Linked DNA regions of Homo sapiens: region 2 is linked to region 1. The links are contacts of gene promoters, found by promoter capture Hi-C in blood cells and fetal thymus (Javierre and others, 2016). All regions are on one chromosome and are shown on one strand. The core of a region is centred on a gene start or on the middle of the fragment in contact, and the rest is flanking DNA. Distances in the headings are between cores, read along the strand shown. Region 1 holds the start of HPS1 (HPS1 biogenesis of lysosomal organelles complex 3 subunit 1). Region 2 holds the start of ENTPD7 (ectonucleoside triphosphate diphosphohydrolase 7).

Region 1 (5,734 bases), core at 1,395-3,894:
TAAATAGGCAAAATTTGAACACTTAACATACTACCACATACCTACTAGAATGGCTAAAGTTAAAATAGGACAATATCAAGTGCTAACAAGACTACAGAGCAATTACACCTCTCAGTGTTGCTAGAAGGAATGTAAAATGGTACATCCACTTTGGAAAATGGTTCAGCAGTTTAATATAAATTTAAACACAGACTTACCATACAGCCCAGCAATCCCATGAGTAGATATTTACCTAAGAGAAATATAAACTTATGTTGAACTACCTCACACCCATTAGGATGGCTACTATAAAAATTTTAAAGAAAATAGAAAATAGCAAGTGTTGACAAAGATGTGGGTAAACTGGAACACTTGTTCCAGGTTGGGAATGTAAAATGATGCAGCTGCTGTGGAAAACAGTATGGTAGTTCCTTAAAAAATTAAAAATAGAATTACCATATGATCTAGCAGTTTCTCTTCTGGGTATATGCCCAAAAGAATTGAAAGCAGAGTCTCAAAGAGATATTTGTACACTCATGTTCATAATGGCCTTATTCACAATGGATGTAACCCAATTGTCCATCAGCAGATAAATGGATAAGCAAAATGTAGTATATACAGACTATAGAGTATTATTTAGGCTTAAAAATAAAGAAAAAAGGAAGGAATTCTCACATATGCTACAACATGAATGCACCTTGAGAATATTATGCTAAGTGAAATAAGCCAGTCATAAAAAGACAAATACTGTATGATTCTACTTATATGAGGTACTTAGAGTAGTCAAATTCATAGAGACAGAAAGTAACATTGTGGTTGCTATGAGGAGGAATGAAGAATTGTTGTTGTTGTTGTTTTTGTTGTTGTTTTTGAGATGGGAGTCTCGCTCCGTTGCCCAGGCTGGAGTGCAGTGGCATGATCTTGGCTCACTGCAACCTCTGCCTCCTTGGTACCAGCAATTCTCCTGACTCAGCCTCCTGAGTCACTGGGACTACAGCTGTGTGCCACCACACCCTGCTAATTTTGTATTTTTAGTAGAGACAGGGTTTCACCATGTTGGCTAGGGTGACCTCAAACTCCTGACTTTGTGATCCGCCCGCCTTGACCTCCCAAAGTGTTGGGATTACAGGTGTGAGCCACCACACCCGGCCAGCATTATTGCTTAATGGATATAGTTTCAGTTTTAAAAGATGAAAAGAGCTGTGGAGATGGATGGTGGTGATGGCTGCATAGCATTAGGAATGTAGTTAATACCACTGAACAATACACTTAAAATGCTTAATGATCAATTTTACATTATATGTATTTTACCACAAACAAATTTGAAAAAAAGAAACATGTTGACACAAAAAACCCGTACATAACTAAAAAATAGATTATATTGGATTACATAAAAATGTAAAACTTTGGTGCTACAAATGATACCACTAAGAAAGTGAAAAGACAAGCCACATAATGGGAAAAAAACTTTTGCAAATCAAGTATCTGATAAGGGGCTTGTAACCAGAGCATATAAAGAACTCTTACAACTCAATAATAAAGACAATTTAAAAATGGATAAAGGATTTGAATAGACATTTCTCCAGAGAAGGTACACAAATAGGCAAAAAGCACATGAAAAGATGCCGAACGTCAGGGAAGTGCAAATAAAATCACAAGACACCACTCCACGCTGGGTTACTATACTTAAAAAAAAAAAAATCAACAATAACAAGCATTGGTGAGGATGTGGAGAAATCAGAATCCTCATACATTGCAGTTGGGAAATGGAAATTACCAGTAGGGGAATGAATAAGTAAATAACAGCATATCCATTTGATGGAATTCATTCGACCACTGAAAGCATAGTGAGTGAACGATCTCAACGGTGGGCTGAGCAAAGAGATGCGTGTGGCAGGGCTATGTGCTGTAGATGGGGAGTTGGAAGAATTTGCCCTAAGGTGGGCTGGAAGGGGTGGGTAGTGGGTTGGGGGGAGTGATGCTCTCTTTGATCTGCAGGTGGTGGAAGTATTGATTCTTAGCCTCTGCCTTTCCCCCAAGAGATGCTCAATCTACTATATCCCCAGCCAGTTCTTGCAACCCATACCTTGCTGGGCTGGGCTCAAAGCTCCCAGGTGGCACCCAGGCACTGAGGGGTGGACTGTTCGGGGATTTAGGCCCTTCCAGAGCGCCCCCTCCACTTCCAGGCACCCCCAATACACATACGATTTTTTAAAATAAATATTGCAAACATAGGTTCAACACAAAACTCCTAATGTGCACTCCACTCCCAAAATAGATTGAGAACTCCTATAAATTCCAGCGTTGGCACTCTGGGGGCAACTGAGCCCTTCTGTGCGCTATGTCACCTCCCCAAAGGTCAGGGAGAGCAGTCACAAAAGGACAGCTCTAGCCCCAGAACTTCAGTTCATTAGGCAAAGCCTGAGGTTCCGGGGCATGGGGAGGAGAGAAGGGATCAGCTGAGGAGCCAGGAAACCTGGGTTCTGAGCCTGGTTCGGACCCTCAGCAAGTTATTTCTTCTCTCTGCGCCTCCGTTTCCTCTTCTGTAAAATGGGGCATGGGCAAGGCCTGGCAGGGGCGGGGCTCGAACCCGCGGAAGGCGACGGCGGCTCCGGCCCCTCCCGGGGCGGGCGGTCACGTGCGCGATCACGCGGTCCTACCCGGAAGCGCGCCCGGGCTCCTGCAGGCGGGGCGCTGTGCGCGCCGCGATCCGGTACGTGGGCCTCCGGGCTGTCCCCTCTGGGGGCGGCGATCCTCCCTCCGGAGCCCCCCTTCAACCCTCCCGGAAGTGAGGTAGGGTCCCTAGGGGTCCCGGAGCGGGCCCACTCCTAGCCTCACCCACTCCGGGCGTGTGGCCGTGGGCCGGTCGCTTCCTCGCTCGGGGCCAAAGTTCCTCAGCCGTGAAGAGGGGTGGATGTCACAAGTCAAGCCTCCTTCCCAGGGTGGCCGTGAGGTTCGGGGGTGGGGGGAGGTGGGGATTTGGGGTGAAACTGGACAGAAACTGGCGTGCTAGGCAAACGGGAGCCCCGCGGCGGCGAACTGCTGACTCGCTCTCTCCAGAGACTCAGGGGCAGGGCCGGGCTCCGAAGGTGTGGGACCCCAGAAGGAGCTGCTGAAGACGGGACCAAGGGCCACAGGGAGGTTTGCTGGGGTCCAGATGGTGAAAGTGGGCGCTGGGGGTCGCCCCAGGTTGGCCCCCCGCCATCTGGAGCTCCTTTCGTCAGTGAGTCCCCTCCGAGTTCCCTTTCTAGGGCAAGATAGCGAGGTGAAGCGGAAGTCTCAGTGTGACACCGGCGAGGTTCTCTTCCCAGCAGCCTTTGGGAAGCATCCCCCTGTTTCGGGAATATGGCATTCGGGCCAATCATGTGGGTGATGGAGCCCGTCTCAGGGTTCGGCTGCTAAAGGCCGAACTCGTAACAGCAGTCTCTGTGGCGGGTAGTCACTTGCCTCTTACTGGCTCACAGTGCTTGACTTCCTAATTAAGTTTTCTGTTGTTCCTGCCCTCTATTCAAATATGAATGATTCCGGAACCAGATTGATTAATCCTGTTATTTGAAGAAGGGAAGCTGGGAAATAGGAATAATGATCCCCACACCTATGTAAGAACGCAGTTTGCTAAGGTTACTTTGCAGCTTGCCTGGTCACTCCCATGATCTAACCCTGTAGGGAGGTAGAGTAGGGGATGTTGCTCTGTTTCTCCGCAGGAGTTTGAGGCTCAGAGAGGTTTATGGGACTTGGCAAAGCCAAAACTAGAACCTGGTCCCAGATGCCTTTCCTGTTAGTTTCCTTCCATTCATCGTATCATCCCAGGATCCCCACTCCCTTCACCGGGACTGCATCCTCACCACCTGGGATGTGCTATGCTGTCTCCCGTCAGTCACTCCTAGCAAGCTCCCTGGGGCTGCTTGGGGAGCTCTGAGTGACCCGCAGAAGTGAGAGCACTTCATGGGAACAAAGGAGGAAGGAACAAAAGTGGGCACCTGCTCTGTGCAAAGGGCTGTGCTGGCCGGGTTCCTATTCTCCATTATGGGAGGTGAGGGGCAGGATCCCAGATATGTTCTTAGCAGACTGCCTCAGGGCCTGGAGAGACCAGGGACCACGCAGCCCTTCTCCAGCTTGTCCTTTCTCAACGGGCAGCAGTCAAGACCAGGGCATCTGCCTGCCCTCATATTCTCTCTGTTTTAAGCATTTGCAGGACCAGGGATGCTGTGCTGCTCTCCCATGAGCCAGTCACCGAGTCGGTCTGCTGCAGCCCTTTCTGAACCTCTGGCCGTCTGGATGCTCCACTGTGCTTGCCAAGGTAGATGATCTTGCCCCACCTGGGGAGGACAGGGAGGCAGGCAGCATCCACCCTGGGGCTTTGGGAGGCAGATGGAATGAGGTAGGCAGTGGACTGAGTGCTACTGGGCTCTGCACACCTGCTCATCCCCTCCCCAGCCCTGCATCCTGAGGCCACCCCCATCCTGATGCCTCATCTCTCCTTCACCCCTCGAATCCAGGCAGGTCATCACAGCCTGCTGCATCTTTAAAGCTCCTCCCAGCCCCCACCAAGGGGTGAGCACTCATTACCTGACACCCGCACCTAGATGACCGCCTTCATGACCTTGACCTGCCCATCTCCAGCCAGCCGGTCACTTCTCCGCTCACAACCACAGCCTCCATTCCATAGCCCACTGCTCCCTAACCCATACACTCTGGTCAGCTTTGTCACATGTACCTGGGAGTCCCAGAGCAGCCTCTTCAGGTCCACCCGCCTCTCCCAGCAACCTCCTTTTCACACCTGTTGCACTCTCAGTGTCTGCCTTGGCATTGAGTAATTCTGTGGGAATAGGCTGCATTCCTTCTTCACTGTGCTGTTATGTCTCCTGGCATTTGCCATAAATACCTTGGGACCAGTTGCACCAAGTTAGTTTGGGAGGAATTCAGTAAGGACCACTAAGCTGGACATGGGGATGACGGAACACAAGACCTGGAGATGCTGTGATCCTCCCAAGAAAACTGGAAATCCACTTGTGTGAGAGTTACAGCAGAGCTTCCTAATCATTGTCATGGCTTAGCGCACATACCACATGATTATATCTGCGTGACACCCTGAGGCACATAAGAGGATTTGAAACCACTGCCTGAGGCCTCTTAGCTGCAGCAGCCAGCCTGGAGCACTGTCCTCACCAGCCTGGTCAGGCTGCCCCAAGTTTTAGAAGATCGAGGGTTTGCCGCACGCAGAGGGCCATGGCACACAGTGTGGGAAGCTGTATTAAAGATCTTCCAGTGGGTGAATAGTTAAGACATTTCTTACATAATCAAGCACAGAGTGTGTGGTGTGTGTGTGTGTGGCGGGGGGGTGGGGAAGGAGATTTGGGAGGGCTGAAGACACTGGTGGCTGTGGCCCTAGAAGCTGCAGCCTACTAGGTACAGGGGCTTTAGGCAGCCTCTGTTCTCACCATGAACAGGGAGAGCAGCATTTGAATGAAACTTCTGTGGTGCTGAAGTAAATTCAGGGGCTTTGAGGCTCATCTTCTGGAGCTGTTTTTTGTTTGTTTGTTTGTTTGTTTGTTTGTTTTTTCAGACAGAGTCTCGCTCTGTCACCCAGGCTGGAGTGCAGTGGTGTAATCTCGGCTCACTGCAACCTCTGCCTCCCGGGTTCAAGCAATTCTCCTGCCTCAGCAGTTATCCCGAGTAGCTGGGATAACAGGCACTTGCCACCATGCCTGGCTAATTTTTGTATTTTTAGTAGAGACGGGGTTTCACCATGTTG
Region 2 (5,744 bases), core at 1,206-3,705, 1.2 Mb before region 1:
GAGCAAAGTATATAATCAAGGATAAAGAAAATCATTTAATAATGATAAAGGGGTCCATTCATAAAGGTATAATACAGTCCTAAACATTTATACACACAATAAGTTTCAGCCCACCAAAACAAGAAAACACAAAGATGCCTTTCATGCAGTATCAGTATTCCTGTACCAAACTGCATATTGCCAAAATAGGGCTTAAAATCTTCTTTATGTAATAAATGGCATGCAATTTTACTAATAAAAGTACAGTATCACCCAAAAGGGTCAAAGTCAGTAGTGTGTTAAACAGCTTATGAAAATATTTATGACTTGAGTGCCAAAATCTAAAGCTGACTCACCTTTCGTATTGCCTATCTCGTGGTAATGAAGCACTCCAATGTCGAAAGTCTATGATTAACATAAGTAAAAGGAGACAGGATATGAAGAAGAGTCCCAGGAATGCCACCCGCTGACGGAGAAATGGACTCACTGTGGGCACAGTGAAGTACCAGGAGGCTGGGCAGAGGTAGGAAAAACTGATCCTGAAATTAGACAAACATTAGTAAGTCTGAAACATTTCTACAACTGAGTGCTTAAATATCGTTTTAAAATTGGATAAAACCCTCCTAATAAAGGCAAAAATCCATGCCAACAGAAGTCTAAATGTTCTTGTCATCTCTAATTTTAGAAGAAGCTCATGGTGCTTCTACTATATATATCAGAAAAGCCTTATCTGCCCTTTTTCCAAACTGCACTTTGAGTGCAATTCAAAGACTTAATCTCATGTTAGTGAAAAGATCACCAGTCTCCCTGGGCAACCTCATAACATTGGAGAATCAGAGCAACTACAGTATTCCCAACCAAGAATTCTGTCAAGAAACAGGATGGTCAGAAAATTTATTTAACTGATTTTAAAAATGTTTTACCAGATTATACAAGCACATAGTAAAAGACAAATCAGTTTAAAAGGATATATTGTATAGTGAAAAGTGATTCTTGCCCTGACCCCACAATCTCTCAGAGGCAAACATTACTACCCAGTTGCTGTGTAATTTTTTTTTTTTTTGAGATGGAGTCTTGCTCTGTTGCCCAGGCTGGAGTGTAGTAGCGCAATCTCAGCTCACTGCAACCTCCACCTCCTGGGTTCAAGCGATTCTTCTCCCTCAGCCTCCCCAGTAGCTGGGATTACAGGTGACTGCCACCACACCCGGCTAATTTTCGTATTTTTAGTAGAGACCGGGTTTCTACTTGGCCAGGCTGGTCCTGAACTCCTGACCTCAGGTGATCTGCCTGCCTTGGCCTCCCAAAGTGCTGGGATTACAGGCGTGAGCTACTGCACCTGGCCGTTGCTGTGTATCTTTCCAGGGATATTCTACGGATACACAAGCATAAATATACACCAATATATTTACAGTAATATATCTCTGTGTGTGTGTGTGTGTGTGTGTGTGTGTGTGTGTGCGTATCCATTCCCTCGGTTTTACACAAATGGTAGTCCACCATACCTGCTGTTCTGCATCTTTCCCCCACTTTATTTTATAACTTTCCCTTATTGGTGCATGTAGATCCACATTAATATTTTTTAAAAGCTTCAGGTTATTATAATGTATGGATAAGTGTATTCATCTGTGAAGTTCACTTTGTATATTGATTCAAAAGGACCTCGGTCTGTCTGCTTTTAAAGTTCACTGCAAACAAAAAACAAAAAAACTTCTTTGTTTAACCTCCTCAAGTGGCACCTAGCCTTGCTCAGATGCGAATCTGAATCAATGTTACAACCTTGCACTTTACAGAGCTGAGCAAGCCGACTCACTCTACCACTCCTGGTCTATGGGCTAGAAACTATTATTTATCAGCCCTCGAAATAATACAACTTTGATCGTCTCTGCATCCAACTAACCAGAATACAAAGTCCAAGTGCAGCTCCAGGGCAAACCTCACTTGGGACAGCCTCCCAGGGCCCCCCAACCTGCCTGCCATCCTCTGCCGTGCTCCCAGCCGGAGGGAAAGTGTGCAGCCTTACCTAGCCATGGGTTCCCTTCGGTGGTCTCAACGCCTGTCACCTTCTTTTTCTTTTGCCCTGAGAAGGTGGCCTCCTTGTCCCAGGCATCTCCTACGTCTGCAGCCTAGAAAGATTTGATTTCAGGCTTCTGTCCGACTGAGCCCACGAGACAAACCTGCACGGGAATTCCACGGCTCCCACCTCCTCCCCAGGCTCCCGCTCCGTCTGCTCTGGTTCCTCAGGCCCAGGGGACCCTACCCGGGCATCCTGGGAGCGGGGCGTTCTCGTGGGCCAGCTCTGTCCTCTAGGAACCGGTCGTCCCCAGGTGGCGGGGTGTGGGTCCCGCTTCCTCTCCCCGTCCCTCCGGGTCCCACAGCCCTCTCGCGCCCACACTCACGGGATCAAGCGGCCCGCCGGTTCCTTCGGCACCTCTCGGTTCAGTCCCGAGCTGCTCCCCGCGGCCCCTTGCCCAGCCGGAAGGAGGGCCCGGCCGGCGGCGGCGCCACGTCCCCAAGGAAACCGCAGGGAGCCAATGACTGACAGAAGACTCACGGAGGGGCCGGCTCTCCACGAGCCGAACCGGGGGCGAACCAGCTCGGTCAGCAGCACGTCCGTCCGCCAGGGTGGCCAATCCCCTAGAGCGCTCGGCCTCTGATGCCCGCCCCGGGACTTTGAGCCGCGCCCAATCGGAAAGGCGTCGTACCGAGGCTCCGCCTGCAGGGCCCGCGGAGAGCTCACAGGTGAGTGGCGCTGGGCGGCCCTGTGCCCGCTTCCCTCCCTGGGGCGCGAACTCTCGGCTGGTTGCTTTCTCCACGGCCGCTCCTGGGACAGAGTAGCTCCGGTAGGTGGGTTCAGGGTGTTCGCGACCGAAGCGCATCCCTTGCCCATAACCTATTGTTGGTTTTGTGCCCACTGACCCTCCCTACCAGAATGGCAGTTCTCTCACCTTAAACCTTCCCTATCACCTCCCAAACTGATGCCCCGACCTCACTGTCTTGCCCCGTGAGAAAACAGAAATCGAAGACAATGACGTTTACACCAAAGTGCTTATGTCCATTCATTCATTCATTGAATGTCTGCTTATGCCAGTCATCATGAATTTCTGTGTCGCCGCCCTCCTTGACCTTACAGTAACACAAAGGAAACGACGCGCGCGCGTGGGTGTGTGTGTGTTTCTTTCTTGCTTACACCAGCCGTTATCTCATTTCCAGGAGGACGGCATAAAGTCCAAGCTCTTTCCAACGTGGCACATCCATTGCGCCCCACGATCCGCCCTACCGCCGTCCTCTGCCGCTACTTGCCTTCCTTACCACGCTCCAGCAACGCGTCCTGTTTTGCTCATTCTGCCCCTCCACCTGCCTTGAATAACCGTCCCAGCCTCTTAGCCAAATCACCTCCTACTCATCCCTTACCACCCATCTTAAGGGTCGCCTTCCCCTAAAAGCCCTACTTGACCTACTACACCTTTTTTATACATGCCTATTGTTTCACTTAGCACGTTGAATTACTATTATACGTATATGTCTGTCTGTCTGTCCCACTAGACAGAATATCCTTGAAGGCAGGGACTATTTGCTTCCACATATTCCCAATACTGGCCACTGCCTGGCAGATAAAACACAACTAATGTATAATTAATAAGCAAATGAATGAATGGGGGGGATCGGGGAGGAAGACCACCCAAATGCTTTATTTATTCAAAGCTTACTATGACAAGGGAGTCAGTCACCATCACTTGCATTTGGCCGACTCAAAGCCTGTCAGGACATTAGGAAAACTACTTACTTACTTAATTACCTACAGGGTCTCACTCTGTTGTCATCCAGGCTGGAGTGCAGTGGTGCGATCGTGGTTCACTGCAGCCTCGACCTCCTGAGCAAGCGATCCTCCCACCTCAACCTCCTGAGTAGCTGGCTCTACAGGCACGTGCCACCATGCCCAGCTTATTTTTTTTTAATTCTTTGTAGAGATGGAGTCTCACTATGTTGTCCAGGCTGGTCTTGAACTCCTGGGCTCAAGCAGTCTTCCTGTCTCAGCCTCCCAAAGTGCTGGGATTACAGGGATGAGCAGCTGCACCTGGCCAGGAAAGCTTAGTAGTGAACAAAAAGGGAAGGTTTCATGTATACTCTGACTTGAGGGTATTAGCATGGGAAAGCTGGAGGTGGGCTAACAAAAGTAGTGTCTCTTAGGTGATTGGTTTGGGGTAGGTAGCATATTTGGCTGTCTTTAGTGGGTTCTGAGTTGAAGAAAGGAGGCGGCAAAAAACAGGGAAACTGAGTCATTGACCAAGTCCTGATTATTCTCGGCTGGTTGCTGTAGAGGTTGTGGGTCAGAGTTCTAATTGTCATATAAGATCTAGCCATTGTCCAGTTTCTATATTCAGTTCTCATGACTATTGTTTTTTTGGCTCCACTACTCTCCTAACCTTGTTGAACTTCCTAATTTGCCTTTCTTCTTCAATTCTCAGTTCTCAGTTTTTTTTTCTCTGTCCCTCAATCCCCACTCTGCTTCAAGTGTTATATTTTATCTGGACCCCCAGAAACCACATTGAATAGAATAGTTGCATAAAGTTGGGATTAACCACAACATTATACAGATACCAGTTATTTTTATTATTTCAGAACCCAGTTCAGTTCCTAGAACAAAATAGATATGGAAAGAACTAAAATAATGTTTTGGAGTAATTTTTAAAAATTTCTTGAATTTACCTTCTGTGAGTTCTAAGTCTAATCTCTATACATATATATTTCAAACTTTAGTGTTCCACAAAATAGGTGTTTTTGAGTGGAAGTATAATTCCTATTTTTAAAATAGTACTTAATTCCTATGGTTTATGAACTATATTAACTTATAATTCAAAAGTTCATTGAAACATCCTCTAATTTACATTTCATAACTACATCATAAAACAGAAAAGACCTACATTTTAATCCCAACATTTTTTCATTATATTTTCTTTGTAAAACTTTCTTTGTCAGTCTGGTTTGGACAATACTTCCTTCAATAAATCCATATGCCCTCAAGCATTTGTCAAGCATAATTCTTTACAAAAACCAGCAATGCTTATCTGGTTAACAGCTCATAGGGCTGAGTTCCGAGGTTTCCAGTCAGCAGGGCAAATTAAAAAGCACTGAGAGTATTTCTCTATTTCATTTGCTGTAACTCAACATGTTGCAACAAGTTATAGAAACCTATGTTTCAAAACAGGTTTTTAACTGCTCTTTAAAGGCTTGCCTTACAATTACATTTGCAATTTTTCTCCAGATGTGCTTGATGCCCAGCCCTGAGCAAAATCAGCCCAACAGGTCCCATATTAGGTGCTAGTTGTTTGCTTTGCTTCATTTCCCCTTGTGGATTCTCCTTCCCTCCACACTCCATCCCACCCTACCCTCTAAAGGAATTTGGAGGAGTGTCATGTGGTCTACACTCTCCCTTCCAAGTTTACCCATCTCTCTTCACCTGTCTTTCAGGCACCCCATTGTCCCAAATAAACTCATTATCTCTCCACTCTCATCATATCCACCCAAACCTCCTCCATCCATATTCTCCATCTTGACAAAATACCCTGTGATTCACCAGAGCAGGAACCTGTATGGGAGTCATCCTAGAATATCTTCCTTCTAACTTTCTTTCTCCCTTTCCATCCAATGAGTCACTAGGGGTGCTTAATTCAACTGCCTAAAATCCTCTCCAAGATCTTCTAATGAAGCCTTCCAACTGGTGGCCCTGCCCCCAGACCCATGCCCCTCCTGAGTGCCCCTTGATT

What was found. The method cuts DNA at HindIII sites, captures the fragments that hold promoters and counts their contacts. A CHiCAGO score of 5 or more calls a contact.
Region 2: the fragment with the promoter of ENTPD7 here is called in contact with the fragment with the promoter of HPS1 in region 1 in 4 of 17 cell types (non-activated CD4 T cells, naive CD8 T cells, total CD8 T cells and 1 more); the score reaches 9.3 in non-activated CD4 T cells.

The regions. Positions count from the first base shown.
Region 1 is chr10:98,443,845-98,449,578 of GRCh38, reverse strand. HPS1 (HPS1 biogenesis of lysosomal organelles complex 3 subunit 1) reads left to right here and starts at 2,644. Exons shown (of 20, transcript NM_000195.5): 1 at 2,644-2,772; 2 at 4,175-4,279. It overlaps HPS1-AS1 (HPS1 antisense RNA 1), which reads right to left and starts at 3,258. Exons shown (of 3, transcript NR_134454.1): 1 at 2,822-3,258. RefSeq lists a silencer at 2,477-2,826. The HindIII fragment of the contact is 10,907 bases long and covers 1-5,734 here.
Region 2 is chr10:99,656,220-99,661,963 of GRCh38, reverse strand. It overlaps ENTPD7 (ectonucleoside triphosphate diphosphohydrolase 7), which reads right to left and starts at 2,455. Exons shown (of 13, transcript NM_020354.5): 1 at 2,376-2,455; 2 at 2,000-2,102; 3 at 336-518. The coding sequence starts at 2,007. It also overlaps a transcript of SLC25A28 not described here. RefSeq lists silencers at 2,227-2,446, 2,567-2,776. The HindIII fragment of the contact is 2,116 bases long and covers 1,568-3,683 here.